Linked DNA regions of Homo sapiens: all the other regions are linked to region 1. The links are contacts of gene promoters, found by promoter capture Hi-C in blood cells and fetal thymus (Javierre and others, 2016). All regions are on one chromosome and are shown on one strand. The core of a region is centred on a gene start or on the middle of the fragment in contact, and the rest is flanking DNA. Distances in the headings are between cores, read along the strand shown. Region 1 holds the start of KIF21A (kinesin family member 21A). Region 2 overlaps KIF21A (kinesin family member 21A). Region 3 overlaps KIF21A (kinesin family member 21A).

Region 1 (3,194 bases), core at 437-2,936:
TCTTATTGGGTTTTCTGTCTTTTTCCTTCCCCTTTCTCCACCCTGGTGCAGTCATTAACTGGTATTAAAGGGCCAAAAGAGAGGTAGTAGCAGTGAATAGGAGAAACAGACTAATCTAACAATTGGATAAGTAGCCCTAGAATAACGAAGAAGGCCTAATTAAAACTTCAAAAGCCTTATAACAGGTGATTCTAACCAGTCATAAAACTGTCACCTCCCTGGGTGGTAAAAAAAAAAAAAAAAAAAACACTTAAAAACTCATTTTATTATTTAAGTTAATTAAAGATACAAAGTATACGAAACAGCCATTACTATGCCTGACCCAAGATGTGTCACTAAAATAGTAACTATAGAAATGTTTAGAGGGGAGAATTTTTAGAATAATTTTCTGGAAAGACTACAAGACTGGGAGATTGTTAATAGTTCCTAATTCCTTGGAGTGTAGATTATTTTTATAATCCTTAAAGCATAAATAAGGAGAAGTGAATTAACAGTAGACTCTCAGAGCTGTGAAAGCCACGCACTTACTCTAGGATGAATGCTTCATTAATTTTTCACACAGTGTGATGATGTTGCAATTTTCCATGAGCAACTATCAGAGCTTTCCTTCTTGATAAGTATCAAAACAGCCGAAATTACATCGAATACTCGTGCCTGTCATTGGCCGAAATATAATTTCAATACTAGGATGTACCTAGTATTTCCAGACTCACACCCTGGCCTGGGTAACGTTACGATTACATTGTATCCACCCTGCCTAATGTCAGTATGTTTCACACAGTCACCCATTTCACCCTTCCTCTGGCTAAAGAGTTTTCCTCCTTCTGTAGACCTCTCCCCAGTGGATTTTACCTTAAATTCCACTCCCATTCCAACACCCAAGAGGCTAGATCTGTCTCCTCTACCCACACGCGGGGGCATGTCTAGATCCCCGTGATGCTGAAAAAGATGTCTCATTTGCACAGACATCAGAACCCGAGTGGGCGCGCGGCGGGCCCTGCGGTCGCCGGCGCTGATAGTCAGATGCTTTGTCTCCTGCCTGGGAAGGCCGGAGCTGCATGGACACGTATGACAGACATTCTAGAACTAATAAAAAAGAACACCACAGCCCCGCGCACAGGCAGCTCCTCCCGGACAGGCGATAGCCCAAGGCGGCCAGACCTGAGGTGACTGATCCCGCGAGGGGACGGAGGGGAGTGACGAGGGCTTTTCCCCCAGAGAAGTCAAGACGCCCCCCAGGGACCCGGCGCCGCGCAGCCGCCAGCCACCTGCAAACACAGACGGCGTGAGGGCGGCGCAGTCGCCCTGCCAGCACCCGGCCGCGCGTGCCAGGCCAGCGGGGACTCACTGCCTCAGTTTCCTCAGCCGCAGAACCCGGCCGGGACGCCCCTCAGGTCGCTCCACCCCGGTAGCCGGTGCTCCGCGCCACAGCCAGGTCCTTGCCGCGCCCTCAACCCGCCGCCCGCCGCCCGCCGCCGGCAGACTGTCCTCACCTGACAGCCACCCGCACGGAGCTCTCGTCCGGGGCGCCCAACATGCTGGCGGCGGGCAGCGATCGAGCCGTTGGGCCTCGGCACCGCAGAGCTGAGGCGCCACTGGGGCCGCGGGACTCGGGCGCAGTAGGCTGGGGCGTCTGCGGGCGGGCGGCCGGCTCACCTCCGCCGCGCTCCAGCCATGTTGGGCGACTGAATGGAAAGGTGGCGGCGGCGCTGAGGCAGCAAGAGGAGGAGGTGATTCACGGCTCGCGGGCGCCCGCCCCTTCTCCACCGCTCACCCCCCAGGATCTGGGGCGGGGACAAAGCGCGCTTGAACGGCGAGCGCGCCTGTGGAGAAGCCAACAGGCCGCCAGCGGCCTCAGGGCGGCCGGGTGAGTGCGCCCTGCCCCCTCCGGTGGGGACGCGGCCTCCCAGCGGCCAGGCTGGGGACTCCACGCCCGCCAGGGCGCTCCGGGCTCCTCGCCCCGCACTGCGTCAGCCGCCGCCGCGCGGCTCAGCCCCACCTCGCCCTCCCCCAGCCTGCGCCCCGCCCTGCCCTCGTCGGGACACTGCCTGGCGCTGCTGGGCAGGGAGGCGAGGGGGAGGGATGCCTGCCGCCGGCTGCCCTCGCCCGAGGGCGACCAGCCTGTGCGCCCTTCCAGGCTCTTCTGGGAGAAGGAAGCAGCTAGTGCACGCGCTGCTGCCAGGTCCCTTCTCAAATCGAAGCTTGATTCAGCGGCGCGCCGGGAGCCAGGCAGCTGCTGCTGCGGTTCGGCTTTGTGTCCCACGCATAGCCTTATTGTCCTCTCTGCAGCTTGGACTTTGACCCCCTTCCCTAGCCCCCAGCTGAACGCCCTCCCTCCTCCCTCCCCGGAGTCAGTCATTCATGCTAAACGGACTCCCAGGTTTGTCCACTGTCTCTGGACAGCTGGGCTGTTCTACAGTTCATCGCCCGTTTACCAGCTCGGGTGGGATATGGAAATGATTTATTCGAGACTCCTGAATGCTTTTCTGTTCAATCATTTGTACACTGGTAAATGAACTGCACCCTGGTACTGCCAAGTGTTCCCAGAACTGAATATATCCACCAAGACCTGCTGTGTAGTAAATCCTTCCAAACTGATTTTCTTTCCCTTCTGGCCTTTAAAAAGCACCTCCCAATCCCAGGATTCTCTCAACATTGACCCATTGTGGTTTCTGTTTGTCACTATTGTGCTTCCACATGCCTTCAGATAGCTCTGTGGAAACAGCCTTTATTAGCTTTGCCACAGAGTATCTTTTGTGGACTGCTCCATACATCTCTATAAACAAACATGTGGCTTCATACGAAATAGTATCACAAATTAAATGGCACTATCCAAATAAAGGCACTACCTCAAATGCCTGCAATCTACAATCACATACCTAATCATCTTGTTCAGCAGTGATACAGCAGTGTGGCTCAGAGAAGGCTGCAACACTATGGGAAAAACAAGAAGTGTTTGATGATTTAAACCCATGGGAAGGCCGATGGGGTATATAATTATAGATAGTTTTAAATTTATTCTGTCCCTTAATCTCACTACCCCTAAATCTTAACAGACATGTAACTGGGAGGTAAAGAGGGCAGAGATGCTGAGTATCCTTCTATAGATCAAATTGGTGGGAAAGCTCTCCTCTGGCTACTCTTTGGAGGGCCTTTCCTAGCCTCAAAATTTATCCATCAACAAATCAGAGCTG
Region 2 (3,194 bases), core at 318-2,817, 100 kb before region 1:
CGCAAAAAGGTGAATATCACATTAAAGCAAGTCACACAAATTTATTTGGTTTCCCAGCGCATATAAAGTTATGTTTATGCTATACAGTAGTCTATTAGGTGTGCAATAGCATCATGTCTAAAAAAATAATGTGCATGCCTTAATCAAAAAACTTAATTGTTAAAAGAAACATGCTGACAGAGACATGAAGTGAGCAAATGCTGTTGGAAAAATAGTGCCAACAGACATCCTCAAGGCAGGGTTGCCACAAACATTCAATTTGTAAAAAATGCAATATCTGCAAAGGGTAATAAAGCAAATCACAGTAAAATCAGGAATGCCTGTAAAAGTATACAAGTTTTGGCTGGGCACAGTGGCTCATGCCTTTAATCCCAGCACTTTGGGAGGTCGAGGTTAGTGGATCAGCTGAGGTCAGGAGTTTGAGACCAGCCTGACCAATATGGTGAAACCCTGTCTCCACTAAAAATACAAAAATTAGCTGGGCATGGTGGTGTGCACCTATAGTCCCAGCTACTGGGGAGGCTGAGAAAGGAGAACTGCTTGAACCTGGGAGGTGGGCAACAGAGCGAGACTCCCTCTCAAAAAAAAAAAAAAAAGTGTACCATTTTTTTATCTTTTTTACTGTATTTTTTACAATACCTTTTCTATGTTTAGATATGTTTAGATACACAAATATTTAGCATTGTGTTAAAATTGCCTAGAGTATTCAGCATAGTAACATGCTGTACAGGTTTGTAGCCTAGGAGCAACAGGCTATACCACATAGCCTAGGTGTGTAGTAGGCTATACCATCGTGGTTTGTATAAGTACACTCCATGATGTTTGCACAATAATGAAATCACCTAAAAATGCATTTCTCAGAATGTACCATCATTAAGCAATGCATGATTATACTTTCTAAATCACTTCCATATTTGCTATTTTATTGTTATTTTAAGAAAACTACACTGACTTTCATGAAAGATGTAAAGAATAATTAATCAAAAACAGATAACAGATCAGGATTTGCACACTCTCTTTGGACAGGGGAAGAAAATTAGTGCTTCTCTAAGTATAGGAATTATAAACACTAAATTTAAGACAGTTATTAGCTATTGGAGAATGGGGAATATGATCAGGAAGAGATAAACAGAAGGCTTACTGTATATCTGTAATGCTTAATATTTTAAACTAGACTGTGGATACAGTGTTTGTTATTATGTATGCTTTCTTGCATATTTGAAATATTTTATACTTTTGTTAAGCTTGCATAAGAGTTTTAAGAGAAGAAATACCTATCAATGTCTAAGAAGCCCTGATGAGCACATGATTTTCAGCTACTCTGAAGAAAGGCTTGGATGAGGAATGACTATTAGAAACAACTTCTAATTGCCAAAGGAAATTACATCATTTGTAAGATTGGGTTACCTTTATCGAATATGGAAAGAACCACAAGAGTTGTTTATTTTTTGTCCCAAATGACAAAATCATACTGAACATCAAACGTTAATGGAAAAAAATAATCAATACCTTTGTTTTTTTCATTTCCATCACATCCTGCTGCAATTTCTTCAATTGCTTTTCATACTGAGACTGATTTTTAAGCAACCTTGCATGTTCTTTTTGAGCTGCTTGAAGTCTCTGCAGTTCTTTGTTCATGGCTTGGAGTTTCTTTTCATATTCAGACCTAACTTTTTTTGCTTTTTCTTCTGAGTAAGATTCTACCGAGCCTAAATGACCAGAGGACATTTTTATATGTTTTTTTGTGAGACACAGATTTTTATTTCACAGATTTACAGTCCATATCCTAAGAGAAGAGCTACTTCCCAAACACCCACATCTCAGAAGACTAGGGTGTCTTTCAATCATTCTCTCTTTTATTATCTACTCTTAACCTGTTTAATGATTATTGAAGCTTATTTATTAATATGTTATGTTAAAATGTCCCCAACATAAATCAAAACATTAAAACAACCATAAATTTGTATAAAGTAAGTAAACAGCCTAGGCAGATATCGGTATGAAAAAACAAAACAAATAACAATATTTAACATTATGAGACAAATTAACATATAATGTGGCCAAAAAGTATTTACAAGCTACATATAACTTTTAAATAAAAGGCACAAACTTTGACTTGCAAAAACAAAACAAATAAATAACAAAAAAGGGTTTAATACGGCTTCTATTTTTTTTCTTCTAAAGGAAAAGATAAAAACCCATTTTGAAGATTTAGCTTGAACTTTCATTTGAATTAAATATAATTCTTACCTAAGTTTTGAAGCACCTGGTCTCTTTCAAGCTGAGTATCCCGAATTTTATGTTGCAGCATCATTAGCTTCTCTTCATACTGCTTTTTCAGAGTCTGCAGTCTTTTCTGGCTGTTTTCTAGTTCATCAATCAGCTTTTGCTTAATTGCAATTTCACAAGTAATGTTTGCCAAGTCTGCTTGATAATTGGCTATTTATAAAAGAAGAAAATAAAAATCCTGGTGCTAGGCCAAAATATCAGAATTCTAGCTTTCAAGCAGACCATAAAAACCATCAACTAGGTATTTTTATTCACTTAGTAGTTATTAGAAAAATTTCCTGGAAAAACCAACAACCAAAAGGTGAATGAGATAAAGAGTGTTCATTTTGGTCAAGGACAATGCTATTTGTATTAGGTAAGAATGGAAATCACACAATGACTAAATCCAGTAAGAGAAGTAACTCATTTGTTTAGCACATAAGCCTTGGAAGGCAAATGTAGGTCAGTGGTCACAGAAGTTTCTTTCATCAAGTATGAAATAGAGAATGTTAAGAGTTTTCTGTCATGGTTTAAACAACTTCCCAAAATGAATTTTTGCCCTTATACCAAAGGGCAAGTACCTTTTTCATCTGATTCAGAATCTGATTCATCAGAACTTTCACCCCCATCAATGTCATCTTCCTCCTCCTCCTCCTCCTCTTCTTCATCCTCATGATCACTCACTTCTTGACTTTCTTCCTAAAATGTGATTTGTAAAAATTAATAGCACAATATTGGCAAAACAAACTGACTCCCTCATTGAGAGAGGCTGCTGGAGTACAAAGTACGGAAACATAAAAAAATTCACTTGTCATCAGTATAAAAATGTTAAGGTTATTACAGAGTAATTTTGTCTTAAATCAAAAAGTATTTCATCTCTCATAGTATTCTACCCCTGACTCCCCAACACAATGCTTTCACAATAC
Region 3 (3,194 bases), core at 333-2,832, 79 kb before region 1:
TTAAATTACTTTGTAATTACTTAGGAAAGAGTACTTTTTCAACAAAATTTTATTAGCTTTCTATTCTGTGCTAAGTACTTAAAACAGAAGCTACGATAAGAGAGAAAGTCCACATACTATTGACTTCATATACAAGCTAAGTGGCCTTGAATAAATTACTTAACCTCTCTAGATTCATTTCCCTTATCTAGAAAATAGAATAATAATACCTACACCTCAAGGGATGCTAGGATTATGTGAAATAACATACAAAATTATTCACACATTTGAGATCCTTAACAGTATAAGGATTAGTTCCTCATCCTATTAGTTTGCTTTGCAATAAAAGTAGTTCTTATAAATCATCTTACAAGCTTATTTAATAATGAATAATCAAAAGTCTGAGTAGAGGATAATCATCTATGCATACCTATTACCCCCGAGGGAATCCTGTAGTAGTCTTGTTAGCTTGGAATCTCTATAGGGGACATGTGTGGCCCTCTTGCTCTTGTCTCCCAAGGCACTTATTACATTGCCAAGTGCCAACTAAAAGAAAGAGAAAGAAAGACAGCAAAATGATACAAATTTACTAATTATAACAATTTTAAATAAAGAAAGTTTACAGAGAATAATATAGAGACATAATATAATTAAGAATATTTGTGTTTGGTTTTGTTTTACATTTGTAACCAATGTCACTGAAAATTTAGTACATATATATTAGTACTATATATAATACCGTATGTATATATTAGTACTATAGTACTAATAGTACTAATTCTTTGAAACAGAAATAAGATTGACAACTTTAGTTACCCCTAGAATTATCAGAGCATCAGGTTATGTCCCCAGAAAATTGTCCATTCATGTTACGCATTCTTCTCCTCAACTCAATGTAAAAATAAAATGTTTAGTTAGTTTAACAGTTTGATGCAAATTTTCGTTTTGCAATACAGTTCCCACGGGAAAAGAAAACCTTCTTTAATCACAACAAAAAAAATCAGTATTATTTCTCTGAACAAGGTATTCCTATGCAAGTATATCTATCCTTAGACATACAATAAGATGGGCTGGGTGCAGTGGCTCATTCCTATAATCCCAGCACTTTGGGAGGCCAAGGTGGGGGGATCACCTGAGGTGAGGAGTTTGAGACCAACCCGACCAACATGGGGAAACCCCATCTCTACTGAAAATACAAAAATCAGCTAAGCGTGGTGGTGTGTGCCTGTAGTCCCAGCTACTTGGGAGGTTGAGGCAGAAGAATAGCTTGAACCTGGGAGGTGGAGGTTGCAGTGAGCTGGGATTGCACCACTGCATTCCAGCCTGGGCAACAGAGTGAGACCCCGCCTCAAAATAAATAAATAAATACAATAATATATGTGTTAGCATCCAATTATTTAAAAACTAGTCAAATTACAGAACTCTGTAGTCACTCCTGCCACCCTGCTGTTTTTCCTACTGTCACTGAATTATCACCTACAAGATAAACATTATCCAAAATGTTGTTCACACTGGCCATCAGTAATGCAAACATCTATAACCATGACTTTGTTAGGAAAAATAGATCATGCAGGGAGTGGCAACAGGATCACACTTTTTCATCATTCCCCCTTTCCAGAGCAGCTACTGTCATAAGCAATGGTAATACTGAAACTCTACTAGATATGTCTCAACATGCTTCAAGAGCCTAAAGAGGAAAACAAAGCAATGGCTTTTGTCTTTTCCTGACAACATAAATGTAAATACCACCATGATTATATCTCCTAAGAAACTCAAAACAATGCAAGAAGTCCAGAATCCAGGCATGCCATTTTATACAACATTCACCCACATGTCGGACCATCAAGATGAGTATTGGAGTTGGAAGGTCTGGCTCTCTCTAATCAGGCTTGGTTGGTAATTTCCCCATAGACGGATCATAATCATATAGGAGTAAATATTGGGGGGTGATTAATGGGAGGAAAGCAGACACCACACACTCTATAACTGCCTTTGCAAAATTCATATCAGTGAGACAAGTATGACAGTGAGGGAAATCTGACCTAATCCACTCCATCTTGCCTTTAATCTCTAAATTGCCCTTGTTCATTCCTATGCTGAGCTAACTAAAGGAGGAATTTATAGTTTAAAGAATTTTGAAAAGATGATAACAACCTTTTCCTGAAACAAACCTCTTCTTCCCTGGGGACCAGCATGCCTTTGTAAAACTAACAAATTAGCCACAAGATTATTAGAAATTATGATTTAAGAGTCATGCAGCTAGAGACCACGAGATTCCCAGCCTCCCCAATTGCTCCTATGGATAAGATGACTATTGTAAAACCTAAGATTGATGTTTGGATATTTTTTTAGACCCTGCATTCTGATGCACCAGCTGACACCATGCAGACTGGTAATCTGGCTCAAGCAGTTCTGTAATCCCACCCTGGAACAGAAGACAGCAAGAAGAATCCACTTAGACCCCATATGATTTAACCTCCACTCCCCACTCCCTTAGCCCCCTCATTCACCAAATTATACTTTAAAAACTGCAGTCTCTGAATTTTTGGAGAGACTAATTTGAGTAATAAAACTCCAGTCTTCCATTTAGCTGGCTCTGTGTGCATTAAACTTTTTCTCTATTGCAATTCCCCTGTCTTGATAAATCAGCTCTATCTGGGCAGCAGGCAAAAAGAATCCCTTGGGTGGTTACAACTCTGATGCTATTGGTGTCGCAGAAATTTAGGGATGTCATTACATTTGTGCAGGTACAAATATCCAGTTTTGTAATGAAGATAATAAGAACAAATTTAAAACACAAAACTTTGCTCTAAAATATTTCCTTCCATGTAATGAAGCTTTATGCTAACTAAATCACAAGGAGTTTTCCAATCAAAATGCCACTAGGTGGCATGGTATTAAAGTTAATTCTTAATATAATCTAGAAAAATTATCATTTTGAAACAATCATTACTAAAAAAAATTACAATTTCCAAAGTCAATAAAGTGACTGTCATAAAATGTTATCAAAAGGCTACTTTGAAGGTCTTCACCCATGAAATAACTTAATATTAAATTTTGGGCCAAGCGCAGTGGCTCGCGCCTGTAATCCCAGCACTTTGGGAGGTTGAGGTGAGTGAATCGCATGAGCCCAGAAGTTTGAGACTAGCCTGGGCAATGTGGCAAAACCCCATCTCTACAAAAAATACAAAAATTATCTGGGTGTGGTGGCACTC

The links. The method cuts DNA at HindIII sites, captures the fragments that hold promoters and counts their contacts. A CHiCAGO score of 5 or more calls a contact.
Region 2: a contact is called between a fragment that was not itself captured here and the fragment with the promoter of KIF21A in region 1, in 1 of 17 cell types (total CD8 T cells). The highest score is 8.3, in total CD8 T cells.
Region 3: a fragment that was not itself captured here is called in contact with the fragment with the promoter of KIF21A in region 1 in 2 of 17 cell types (total CD4 T cells and naive CD8 T cells); the score reaches 5.4 in total CD4 T cells.

What each region holds. Positions count from the first base shown.
Region 1 is chr12:39,441,434-39,444,627 of GRCh38, forward strand. It overlaps KIF21A (kinesin family member 21A), which reads right to left and starts at 1,687. Exons shown (of 38, transcript NM_001173464.2): 1 at 1,494-1,687. The coding sequence starts at 1,537. RefSeq lists enhancers at 628-697, 1,516-2,016, 2,298-2,357 and a silencer at 1,318-2,217. The HindIII fragment of the contact is 8,179 bases long and covers 1-2,199 here.
Region 2 is chr12:39,338,656-39,341,849 of GRCh38, forward strand. KIF21A (kinesin family member 21A) reads right to left here. Exons shown (of 38, transcript NM_001173464.2): 14 at 2,850-2,967; 15 at 2,251-2,439; 16 at 1,510-1,709. Among named protein-coding and RNA genes, the nearest start is that of KIF21A, 100 kb to the right of the region's middle. The HindIII fragment of the contact is 650 bases long and covers 1,243-1,892 here.
Region 3 is chr12:39,362,689-39,365,882 of GRCh38, forward strand. KIF21A (kinesin family member 21A) reads right to left here. Exons shown (of 38, transcript NM_001173464.2): 7 at 410-525. Among named protein-coding and RNA genes, the nearest start is that of KIF21A, 79 kb to the right of the region's middle. The HindIII fragment of the contact is 2,463 bases long and covers 352-2,814 here.